Regions from separate parts of the Homo sapiens genome. Here region 2 is linked to region 1. The links are contacts of gene promoters, found by promoter capture Hi-C in human tissues and cell types (Jung and others, 2019). All regions are on one chromosome and are shown on one strand. The core of a region is centred on a gene start or on the middle of the fragment in contact, and the rest is flanking DNA. Distances in the headings are between cores, read along the strand shown. Region 1 holds the start of MAD1L1 (mitotic arrest deficient 1 like 1). Region 2 overlaps ZFAND2A (zinc finger AN1-type containing 2A).

The links. The method cuts DNA at HindIII sites, captures the fragments that hold promoters and counts their contacts. A contact is called where the count stands out against the background at its distance.
Region 2: a fragment that was not itself captured here is called in contact with the fragment with the promoter of MAD1L1 in region 1 in 1 of the 25 tissues and cell types used here (dorsolateral prefrontal cortex).

The regions. Positions count from the first base shown.
Region 1 is chr7:2,230,448-2,235,474 of GRCh38, reverse strand. It overlaps MAD1L1 (mitotic arrest deficient 1 like 1), which reads left to right and starts at 2,530. Exons shown (of 19, transcript NM_001013836.2): 1 at 2,530-2,603; 2 at 4,748-4,926. It overlaps MRM2 (mitochondrial rRNA methyltransferase 2), which reads left to right. Exons shown (of 3, transcript NM_013393.3): 3 at 1-1,280. The coding sequence ends at 353. RefSeq lists enhancers at 1,145-1,677, 2,412-2,541, 2,327-2,621 and silencers at 2,256-2,634, 2,612-3,031. The HindIII fragment of the contact is 16,776 bases long and covers 1-5,027 here.
Region 2 is chr7:1,148,570-1,153,596 of GRCh38, reverse strand. It overlaps ZFAND2A (zinc finger AN1-type containing 2A), which reads left to right. Exons shown (of 5, transcript NM_182491.4): 5 at 373-690. The coding sequence ends at 528. Among named protein-coding and RNA genes, the nearest start is that of ZFAND2A, 9.1 kb to the left of the region's middle. The HindIII fragment of the contact is 5,994 bases long and covers 1-5,027 here.

The DNA of each region.
Region 1 (5,027 bases), core at 1,281-3,780:
TGACTGACCCGAGAACCTCACAGAGAATCCTCGAGGTGCTTCCTGGCAGGAGAGCAGATGTGATTCTGAGCGACATGGCGCCCAATGCCACAGGGTTCCGGGACCTCGATCATGACAGGCTCATCAGCCTGTGCCTGACCCTTCTCAGCGTGACCCCAGACATCCTGCAACCTGGGGGGACATTCCTTTGTAAAACCTGGGCTGGAAGTCAAAGCCGTCGGTTACAGAGGAGACTGACAGAGGAATTCCAGAATGTAAGGATCATCAAACCTGAAGCCAGCAGGAAAGAGTCATCAGAAGTGTACTTCTTGGCCACACAGTACCACGGAAGGAAGGGCACTGTGAAGCAGTGAGGATTTCTTGTGCCATTTTCATAATGGTCATTAGCTCCTTTTAAGCTAGAAACGTAGCCTGAGCTCCTGAAGAGTTCCTGGGAGATTTGAGCTGATTTTGGAGATGGAGCAGGACAAGTGGGGAGTCTCTCTCTCTCTTTCTCTCTCTCTCTTTTTAACCAAAAAGAGATGACAAAACTAAGTTCAGGGGCCATGGAAAATGAAAAAGTCCGCTATATTGTGATTTGGGAAGAGAAAGTTATCAAGAGAAAGAGGTGAGGATGGAAGGATGGAGAAAAACAGACTGTGGGAAGGATCAGAAGGAATCCGCCGAGGCAGGGATGGGTGTGCCCATGTGTGCCTTGACGGGACTTCATCTTATAGACTGTTAAACTGTCACACACAAACAGGCTTTCCACCCCTGCTCTGAGAGCACCACGCACAGATTTCCAGTTCTTAGTGTGGCTGTTTAAAGTAGAAAATCTGGGGGCTGGGTGAGGCCACTCATGCCTGTAAACCCAGGGCTTTAGAAGGCTGAGGCTGGGGGATTGCTTGAAGTCAGGAGTTCAAGACCAACCTGGGCAACATAGCAACACCCCCCATGTCTACAAAAATGAAAAACCAAAAAGCAAACCAAAAGAAAAATCTGAAATTTCCATCTGGGGATTAACTTCTGTCTTTCTGGTGAACAATATAGCAATTCACGCATTCTTCAAGCAGCAAAAGTTCCCGGAACAATTAGGGAAGACGTATGGTCTGAATTTATCCAGGCAGTGGGTCTGCTTTGGTTTTTGCTGGAAATTTATATCAGTGTCTGGGCTCCCAAGAACATAAATGTAATTGCCAAAGCAAGCAGTGATGTGGTGTGTTTATTTTCTTTTACTCATCTAGGAACTTGACGCAGCTTTATATTTAATAAAATAATAGAGATTGCATTATTTTAAGGTACTTTCATGCTTTGAAGTTTTGTTTTTTTTAAACTGGCTTCCTCAAAGCCATTTCCTGGAGGTGTACTCATCCCTCAAGAAGAGTTTGTTGACTATGATTAAATTCCAAGGACCAGTGGGGGAAGTCTGGAAACCCAGGAATCTCCATCAGGAATCTGGGGCTCTGTCCAGCTCCCCGAAGGAAACTGCGGGTCAGATGTTTTGATTTTTTTTTTTCTTTGAGAAACAGAATCTCACTCTGTCACCCAGGCTGGAGTGCAGTGAAGTGATCTTGGCTCACTGTAAGCTCCACTTCCCGGGTTCACGCCATTCGGCCTCAGCCTCCCGAGTAGCTGGGACTACAGGCGCCCATCACCACGCCCGGCTATTTTTTTTTTTTTTTTTTGTATTTTCAGTAGAGACGGGGTTTCACCGTGTTAGCCAGGATGGTCTCGATCTCCTGACCTCGTGATCCGCCTGCCTCGGCCTCCCAAAGTGCTGGGATTACAGGCGTGAGCCACCGCGCCCGGCCGCCAGATGTTTTGACTTTTCATTTTATTTCTGGTTGCAGTCAGGTTGTTAAGTCCAGGGACTCTTGCCCTACTCCACCTCGTTCTCTTATTCCATTTCATTCCCGGGGCACACAACTTGGAAGTCTTTCTCTGAAAGAAGGAAAATTCATTGCAGACCCTTAGGAACAGCATCTTCTTAGAGGGAAGCCAGGGGCTGGGCAGAGACGGGAGGAGGAGAGGAAGAGAATATGGAAACGAGTAAGGCACACTCTTCTCAGGAAGGCTCCAATTTGAAGGATAGACAAAGGTTACCATAATAATGGTGGGGCCTGACCTCACCCCATTGGATGCTGTGCCCTGGCTTGCAGAGCACTGGGAAGGTAGCCTAGTAGCATAAATTGCATTTCTAGTGGGCCCAGAAAAAAGCAAAATAACGGATTGATTCAAGCTGATACTGAGTAGCAAAATTTTGGGAAGAGTCAACGGTGCAAGTTTGTCCGAGGAGGCTGCCGTGGGCGCGGCTATTCCACACATTACGGCGCGAGGCGAAAGCCTTAGTGGAAGCGCGTCCTGCGCAAAGCCGGGGGGCCCCCGACTGCGCCTTGGCTCAGCCTTCGGTTCCGAGTCCTTTCCGTGCGGAGTCTCCCAGGGGTGGCGGCTCCGGGTGCGGACGCGGAGTCCCCAGGATCAGCCGGTGCGCAGACTCGGTTCTTTACGGCCCGATTGCCACGCAGGTCTCGCGAGAGCGCAGGCGCAAGTGTCGCGATAAATGGGCGCCGGCGGAGCGGAGGGAGATCCGAGCGGCGGCGGCAAGCTGGCTGCGAGCGGCTGAGGTAAGCGGCCCGGCTCGCGCGGGCGGCGGGGTCCCGGGGTCCCGGGGGTCCCGGGAATGGCAAGGGAGGGGCCGAGGGCCCGGACCGGGTGTGCTCGCCAGGGTGGGGCACAACGACCCAGACCCCGTGCCTCAGGACCCCGCGCCCGCCCCGTCTCCCATGGGCGCGCTCTCCTCTCTGTGCTCTCCCCTCCTCTCCCCACTCCCCTGTCCCCACTCCCCCTTTGGGCTGTGCTGGGGACAGCGGGCCCCTCGCCTGGGTCTCCGCAGCCGTCCCTTGTGCCAGGGCGGGCGGCCGAGGGGCGCGTGCTCGTGGTCCCAGCCCCGGGGTCCCGCTGCCTACCGTGTGGGTCCCCGGGCTAGGGTGCCGGCGCGCCGAGGAAGGGGCCTGAGCTGGCGCCTGGTGGAGAAGTCGGGGCTGCAGGGGCTCTTGGCATCCTGGTGGCTCGCGCCGGTCCGCTCTCAGGAAGGGGGCGTGTGGGCCCGGTTTCCCCTCGGGGATGGCAAGGGCCACCCTGATCTCGTTTGGGCAATGGAGGAATTGGGCTGTGGAGCCTCCTTCCAGGCGGGCCTGCCTCTGCGGGGCTGGCAGCCTGGGGAGCTCAGGCCTCTGCTTGCACCAGGCCAAGGTTCTTGTTAAATGGAAACTCAGAAACTGTGCAGCTGCAGAAGTTCTACCTTTGGCTTTTAAACGCGCTTGGCTGTTCCCTAGTTGTGGCTGGTGGGCCGGCCTGCCATGAGCCCATAGTAAGCGCCGGTGTTGGGGGTGCAAAGTTCTTTACTGCGGTTTGTCTTCAGCCTTCCAAAGCCAGACAGACCCAAGTTCCAATCTCCGTTCTGTAACTTTTTGAAGCTTCGGTTTCATCATCTCTAGAATCTGTGTAAAAAGACCTAATTCACCACCCTGTTGAGACTGAGCTTACAAATATAGTGCTGGTCAACCTGCAGCCGTATTCCCATCATCTAGCGGTGGAAGACTTGAGGGATATTGGCCCCGTTCCCCACAACTTTGCAAGTAGATTTCACTGTCATGAGTTTACAGATGAGGAAACTGAAGTTCAAGAAGTCTCGGTGCTCGGAAATGTCAGATACCTTTCTTTCTGATACCTAGTTGAAAATAGTAGTAGTACTTATTAATGTCACTAGAAATAAACAATGAAAATGAGCACAGCTGTGATGATCATCATCTTTACTGTCACTGTTGCATGCCTCGTTTCTGATTCCCAGAGGCCAGATTTTTTTTTTAATTAATTATTATTATTTTTTGAAACGGAGTCTTGCTCTGGCACCCAGGCTGGAATGCAGTGGCGCGATCTCAGTTCACTGCAACCTCCATCTCCTGGGTTCAAGAAAATCTCCTGTCCCAGCCTCCGGAGTAGCTGGGATTACAGGTGCACGCCACCACATCTGGCTTTAGTAGAGATGGGGTTTCACCATGTTGGCCAGGCTGGTCTCGAACTCCTGACCTGTGGTGATCTGCCCATCTTGGCCTCACAAAGTGCTGGGATTACAGGCATGAGCAACAGTGCCTGGCTTATGTTTATTTATTTATTTATTCATTCATTTATTTATTTTGAGACACTGTCTCACCCCGTTACCCAGGCTGGAGTGCAGTGGTGCGGTCTCAGGTCACTGCAACCTCTGCCTCCCAGTTTCAAGCGATTCTTGTGCCACAGCCTCCTGAGTAGCTGGGATTACAGGCGCACACCACCACACCCGGCTAGTTTTTGTATTTTATTAGAGGTGGGGTTTTGCCATGTTGGCCATTCTGGTCTTGAACTCCGGACCTGCCTCCGCCTCCCGAAGTGCTGGGATTAGAGGCGTGAACCACCCTGCCTGGGCAAGAGGCCAGACTTTGCTGTGAGTGCTCCTGGTAGGTAGTTTCAGGCATCAACTGACTGGATTCAGGAATTCCTAGAAACCTGGGAAAGCATCATTTTTGGTTTTGGGTGTGCCTGTTGAGGGTGTTTCCAGAGGAGATGAGCTTGGGAGTCTGAGTGGACCAGGTGCTGAAGATCCATCCTCAGAGTCAGGGGCAGTATCTAAGAGCCTGGGGGCCTGGAGAGGACAAAAACAGAGAAAAGGCGAATGTGTCCATCTGCCTGCAGGAGCTGGGATACACTCTTCCTCTCCTCTCCTCAACAGCAGCACTCCAAGCTCGCCGGCCTTTGGTCTCCAGGACTTGTCCCAGCAGCCCCTCGAACTGAGAATTACACCATCGGACCCCTGGCTCTGAGGCCTTCAGACTTGGACTGTGTCACACTGCCAGGCTTCCAGGGCTCCAACTTGCAGACGGCCTGTTGTGGGACAGTCTCTGTAATCGCGTGAGTCAGTTTCCCCAATAAAGCCCTTCTCTTGTGTCTGTCTCTGTGTCCTGTTGGCTCTGTGTCTCTGGAGAACCCTCTTACAGTGCAGTTGGGGGACG
Region 2 (5,027 bases), core at 1,153-3,652, 1.1 Mb after region 1:
GAACTGTGTCCAGTTTAAATGGGAATGTTCTTACCGGAGGCTGTTAAAGAATTTAAGGCCAGCACAGTGGCTCACACAGGTAATCTTAGCACTTTGGGAGGCCAAGGCGGGAGGATCACCTGAGGCTGAGTTTGAGACCAGCCTGGGCAGCATGGCAAGACCCCATCTCTGTGAAAATAGACAAAATTAGCTGGACGTGGCGGTGTGTGCCTGTAGTACCAGGTACTAGGCTGAAGCAGGAGAATCACTTGAGTCCAGGAGGCAGAGGTTGCAGTGAGCCAAGATCAAGCCACTGCACTCCAGCCTGGGCAACAGAGCGAGACCCTGTCTCCAAAAAAAGAATTGCTTGTTGAAGTCACTTTGCTCTCTTAGATTTTTACATACCGTTGCTCAAAAGAGGGCTGCAAGAAGAAAGAGATGCTGCAGATGGTATGTGCCCAATGTCACGGCAACTTCTGTATCCAGCACAGACACCCTTTGGACCACAGCTGCAGACACGGGAGTCGCCCCACCATCAAAGCTGGGTGAGAAGAGACTCCGCTGCGATGGCTCGGAGCACGCAGTAGCATGCGTGGAAGCAGCTTACACTCTAGTGGGAAGTGGAGCCCCATTGAGCACCATCCCACACTGGCTGCTGATCTTGTTTGTTGAGGGAGATGGGACTATAATAAAATTGAATGCTGAAGTTGATTCTAGTTGTTCTCATTGCCCACTGCTGCCGTCACCAAGTACTAAAAACTGGGTGGCTCAAACCATAGAAATCGGTTCTTTCACAGTTCTGGGGGCTGGAGGTCCAGGCGCAGGATGTCGGCAGGGCCAGCCCCTTCTGAGGGCTGCGGGGAGCATCGGCTGCGTCTCCCCAGCATCTCGGGGCTCGTCAATGCACAACCCCCGTCTCCACCTTCATCTTCACATGGCATTCTGTGTGTGTCCCGACTTCCCCTTTTTGTAAGGATGCTGGTCATGTGATCCCACAGTCGTGACCTCTGAAAAGACCCTGTGTCCACAGAAGGTCACACTCTGAGGTCCCGAGTCTAGGGCTCCAGCATGTCTTGTGGGGACATGATTCAACTCGTAATGCTAATGTTTGTCAAATCGAGAAGCATCTGTATTTGCCTCAACTGTTGCACCTGGTGGTGTCTGGCGTCCATCCCTGGGCCAGGCCAGTGGTAGTTGCTTACCTGCAGGAAGCTGTGTGGGTTCTTGCGGTCAGCACATGGAGGCTGAGCTGATCCATCCACCCTCTCTGTAGGTGCTCACCCATGACAGTCTCTGAATCCAGGCCGTTGGGAGATTTCCTCACCCTGGCTCCTGGCGGGCTGGCCCAGCGACTCGGGTACTGGTTCACCCGGCTCATGTGAACGCAATTTCGTCTGTGTGGGGTGCTGCAGCTCTTGGTTGGTGAACACGGAAAGGTTGCTGTGTGTAACTGCACAGTGTGACGCGATGCTCCAGTGGTGCGACTTCGTCAGGATGGATGAAGGACACAGGACTGGGACCCCAAGTTACAGAAGCAGCTCGCTCCAGCACAACCTTTCGGCAGCAGCAGCATCATACAGCTGGTTTCTGAAACACCTTTTCTGCCCTCCAAGATCCTCTGACATGATCAACATTCCTGCATCATCAAGACAAACCTGAAAAGAGCTGTTCTTTGTTCTTTTTGGTGGAAAGTGATGAGGTCCTTCCCGTTTGCACTGCCGTGTGGGTTATTTCCACTCTAGGTAACTTCCGCCTTCAGGTACTCCCCATACTTCTAATGGCCCAGCAGCACCTCCGGGCCATCTTCACGGGAATCCCCAGCTTCAATGCTGGCTGGCTTTGCTTTTTTTTTTTTAAAAGGGATGAAGTCTTGCTCTATTGCCCAGGCTGGAGTGCAGTGGCACAATCTCAGCTCACTGCCACCTCTGCCTTCCAGGTTCTAGCAATTCTCCTGCCTCAGCCTCCCGAGTAGCTGGGATTACAGGCACCAAACTGCCATGCCCGGCTAATCTTTTATATTTTAGTGAAGATGGTTAGCCTGAAACCTTGAAACTTCCCCACTGAAATACACAAACTAGGCCGGGCGTAGTGGCTCACACCTGTAATCTCAGCACTTTGGGAGGGCAAGGTGGGTGGATCACCTAAGGTCAGGAGTTCAAAACCAGCAAACACCAGACAGCTCACTTGCGCTCTTCACCATGTCACCTCTGTAACGATGTGACTATCTGGCCAAGAAGGGGGAAGGACATCCACCTGCCTGGCCGAGGGTTCTTGTCCAGCGGCGGCCACAGGTGCTACTCGCATTGTTTGAGGGCACAGCTGCGTGCCCGTTCCTGACCTCCAAGGGGCTGGGACACTGTGTGAGAGAAGGTGTGTCTTCCTGGACCACTTGTCCCTGCCACGGTCAACTTCTTAAAACAGGCACAGTTCAGCCAGGCGCAGTGGCTCACGCTTGTAATCTCAGCACTTTGGGAGGCGGAGGCAGGCGGATCACCTGAGGTCAGGAGTTTGAGACCAGCCTGGTCAACATGGTGAAACCCCATGTCTACTAAAACAAAAATTAGCCAGGTGTGGTGGTGGTACACGCTTGTAATCCTAGCTACTCAGGAGGCTGAGGCAGGAGAATCACTTGAACCTGGGAGGCGGAGGTTGCAGTGAGCCCAGATTGTGCCACTGCACTCCAGCCTGGGCAACAGAGCAAGACTGAATCTCAAAAAAAAAAAAAAAAAAGGCACAGTTGTCAGCAGCCAGCAAGCCCGAGAGCTGCTTTGCACCTGGATCTATTTCAGCACCAACAAGAAAGTTGCAAAATGCCACCTGTTGAAGATGGCTCTGTCCAGTGATGAAGCAGTGGAAACTTCCAGAAGTGACTTAAAACTACAATGGCAGGAACTAGGGCTTCCACAAGTGCCAGAGATTACAGGAGACTGGGTTTTATAGGTTTGAAGAGCAGAAAGCCAAAACGGGAGGGAAGGGGGGTAGTGAGGTGCACAGTCCTTTGTGGCTCAGATGACAGATGCGGCCTTCGTGGCCTGACACTTTCCACCACCGTCTGATTTTGTGAAGTGATGAACACGGGTAACGTAAATACTGGTGTTAGATTTATACTGACAGCCGCTCTGCTCATCAAGAGTGCAGTGATTTCCTGGGAACTTAGGGGGTGTCAGGGAATAAGGTGAAACAAAATTCCCCCAAGTTCTGTCCTGTTCTGAACTGCCCTGGCCATCCAGCTGTGCCCACCAGATGTCCCGCTGAGACAGTTCACAAAAACACAAGCCACTGCCTTTTTTTTTTCTGCTTTCACCATCTAAAAATGTAACGGGAAGGGTTTGTATTCTGTTGGCGTTCTGCAAAAAGGTGGTCAGACCTGCAGTCAGGGGAACGATGTTTCTGTCGATGACGGACCGTGTATATGTTGGTGATCGCAGAACATACTGTATTTTCACTATATCTTTTTTTTTTAATCTGACAAACTTTTTTGCTTTTATTTTAATTGACATAATTGTACATATTGATGGGGTACATTGTGGTATTTGGAGGAGTTTGAGACCAGCCTGGCCAACATGATGAAACCCTGTCCCTACTAAAAATACAAAAATTAGCCGGGCGTGGTGGTGCATGCCTGTAATCCCAGCTACTTGGGAGGCTGAGGCAAGAGGATCGCTTGAACCCGGGAGGCAGAGGTTGCAGTGAGCAGAGATCGTGCCATTGCACTCCAGCCTGGGTGATAGAGCAAGACTCCATCTCAAAAAAAAAAAAAAAAACTTAAGAACAAGCTAGTCACCCTGCAGTCCCACAGAACACTGGGATGGAATCCTCCCAGCAAGCTGGACCGCACCACGCCTAGGTTTGGAAGCACAAACACGCAGCGCCGTGCCGCAGTGGCCTACAGCATTCAGCGCAGTAGCACTCTGCACGCATTTGTAGCCTGGGAGCCACAGGCTATGCCCTACAGCCTGGGTGTGGAGGAGGCCGCACCATCGAGCTCTGTGTAAGTCCCTGTAGGATGCTTGCACGACAATGCAATCACCTGGCCGTGCACATCCCTGACGGTGGGTGACATGTGACCGTTGCTATGCTTATTTCATGGTGTCTGTCCTAGGCCGGCGGTTCCCAAGCCCTAGCCTGTGTCAAAACACAGGGCTCCTTACGGGAGGGTGCTGGACCCCACCCCGAGGCCCTGGTTCTGTGGTCTGAGGTGGACTCAGGTTTACACCTGGAGCTGCCCGGGTGACACGTCTGGTCTGGGACTGCACTTGGACAAGCCACTTCCCTGCGTCTGCAGCACCTCTGGCCTCGTGTGCTGTGGAGCAAGGAAAACGCAGCCAGCACAGTGTTCGGTGTGGTTAAGTTTAAAAACCACTAACTTGGTTCAGTCAGTGGAAAACAGGTACGTTAGGAACCTGGGTGTGTGAACTGTGAATCTGCAGATCAGGTGTTCTAATGAAAAAATGTTTTTAATTTTTAAAGTCTTGAGAAACAAAGTTCTGATAATTTAATGTCCAAACTGAGATGTATCCAGCCGGGCCCAGTGGCTTATGCCCGTAATCGCAGTACCTTGGGAGGCTGATGTGGGCGGATTGCTTGAGCCCAGATGTTTGAGATAGGACTGGGCAATGTAGTAAGACGTTGTCTCTCAAAAAAAATAAATAGCCAGACAGATGGTGCATGCATGTGGTCCCAGTTACTCAGGAGACGTCAAGGCTGCAGTGAGCTGTGATCACACCACTGCACTCCAGCCTGGGTCACAGAGAGCAAGACTGTCTCATTAAAAAAAAAAAAAAAAAAAAAAAACAAAACAAGGCCAGGCGCAATGGTTCACGCCTGTAATCCCAGCACTTTGGGAGGCTGAGGCGGGTGGATCACAAGGTCAGGGTTCGAGACCAGCGTGGCCAACATGGTGAACCCTGTCTGTACTAAAAATACAAAAATTAGCCAGGCATGGTGGCAGGTGCCTGTAATCCCAGCTACTCAGGAATCAGGAGAATCACTTGAACCCAGGAGGGAGAGGTTGCAGTGAGCCCAGATTGTGCTGTTGCACTCCAGCC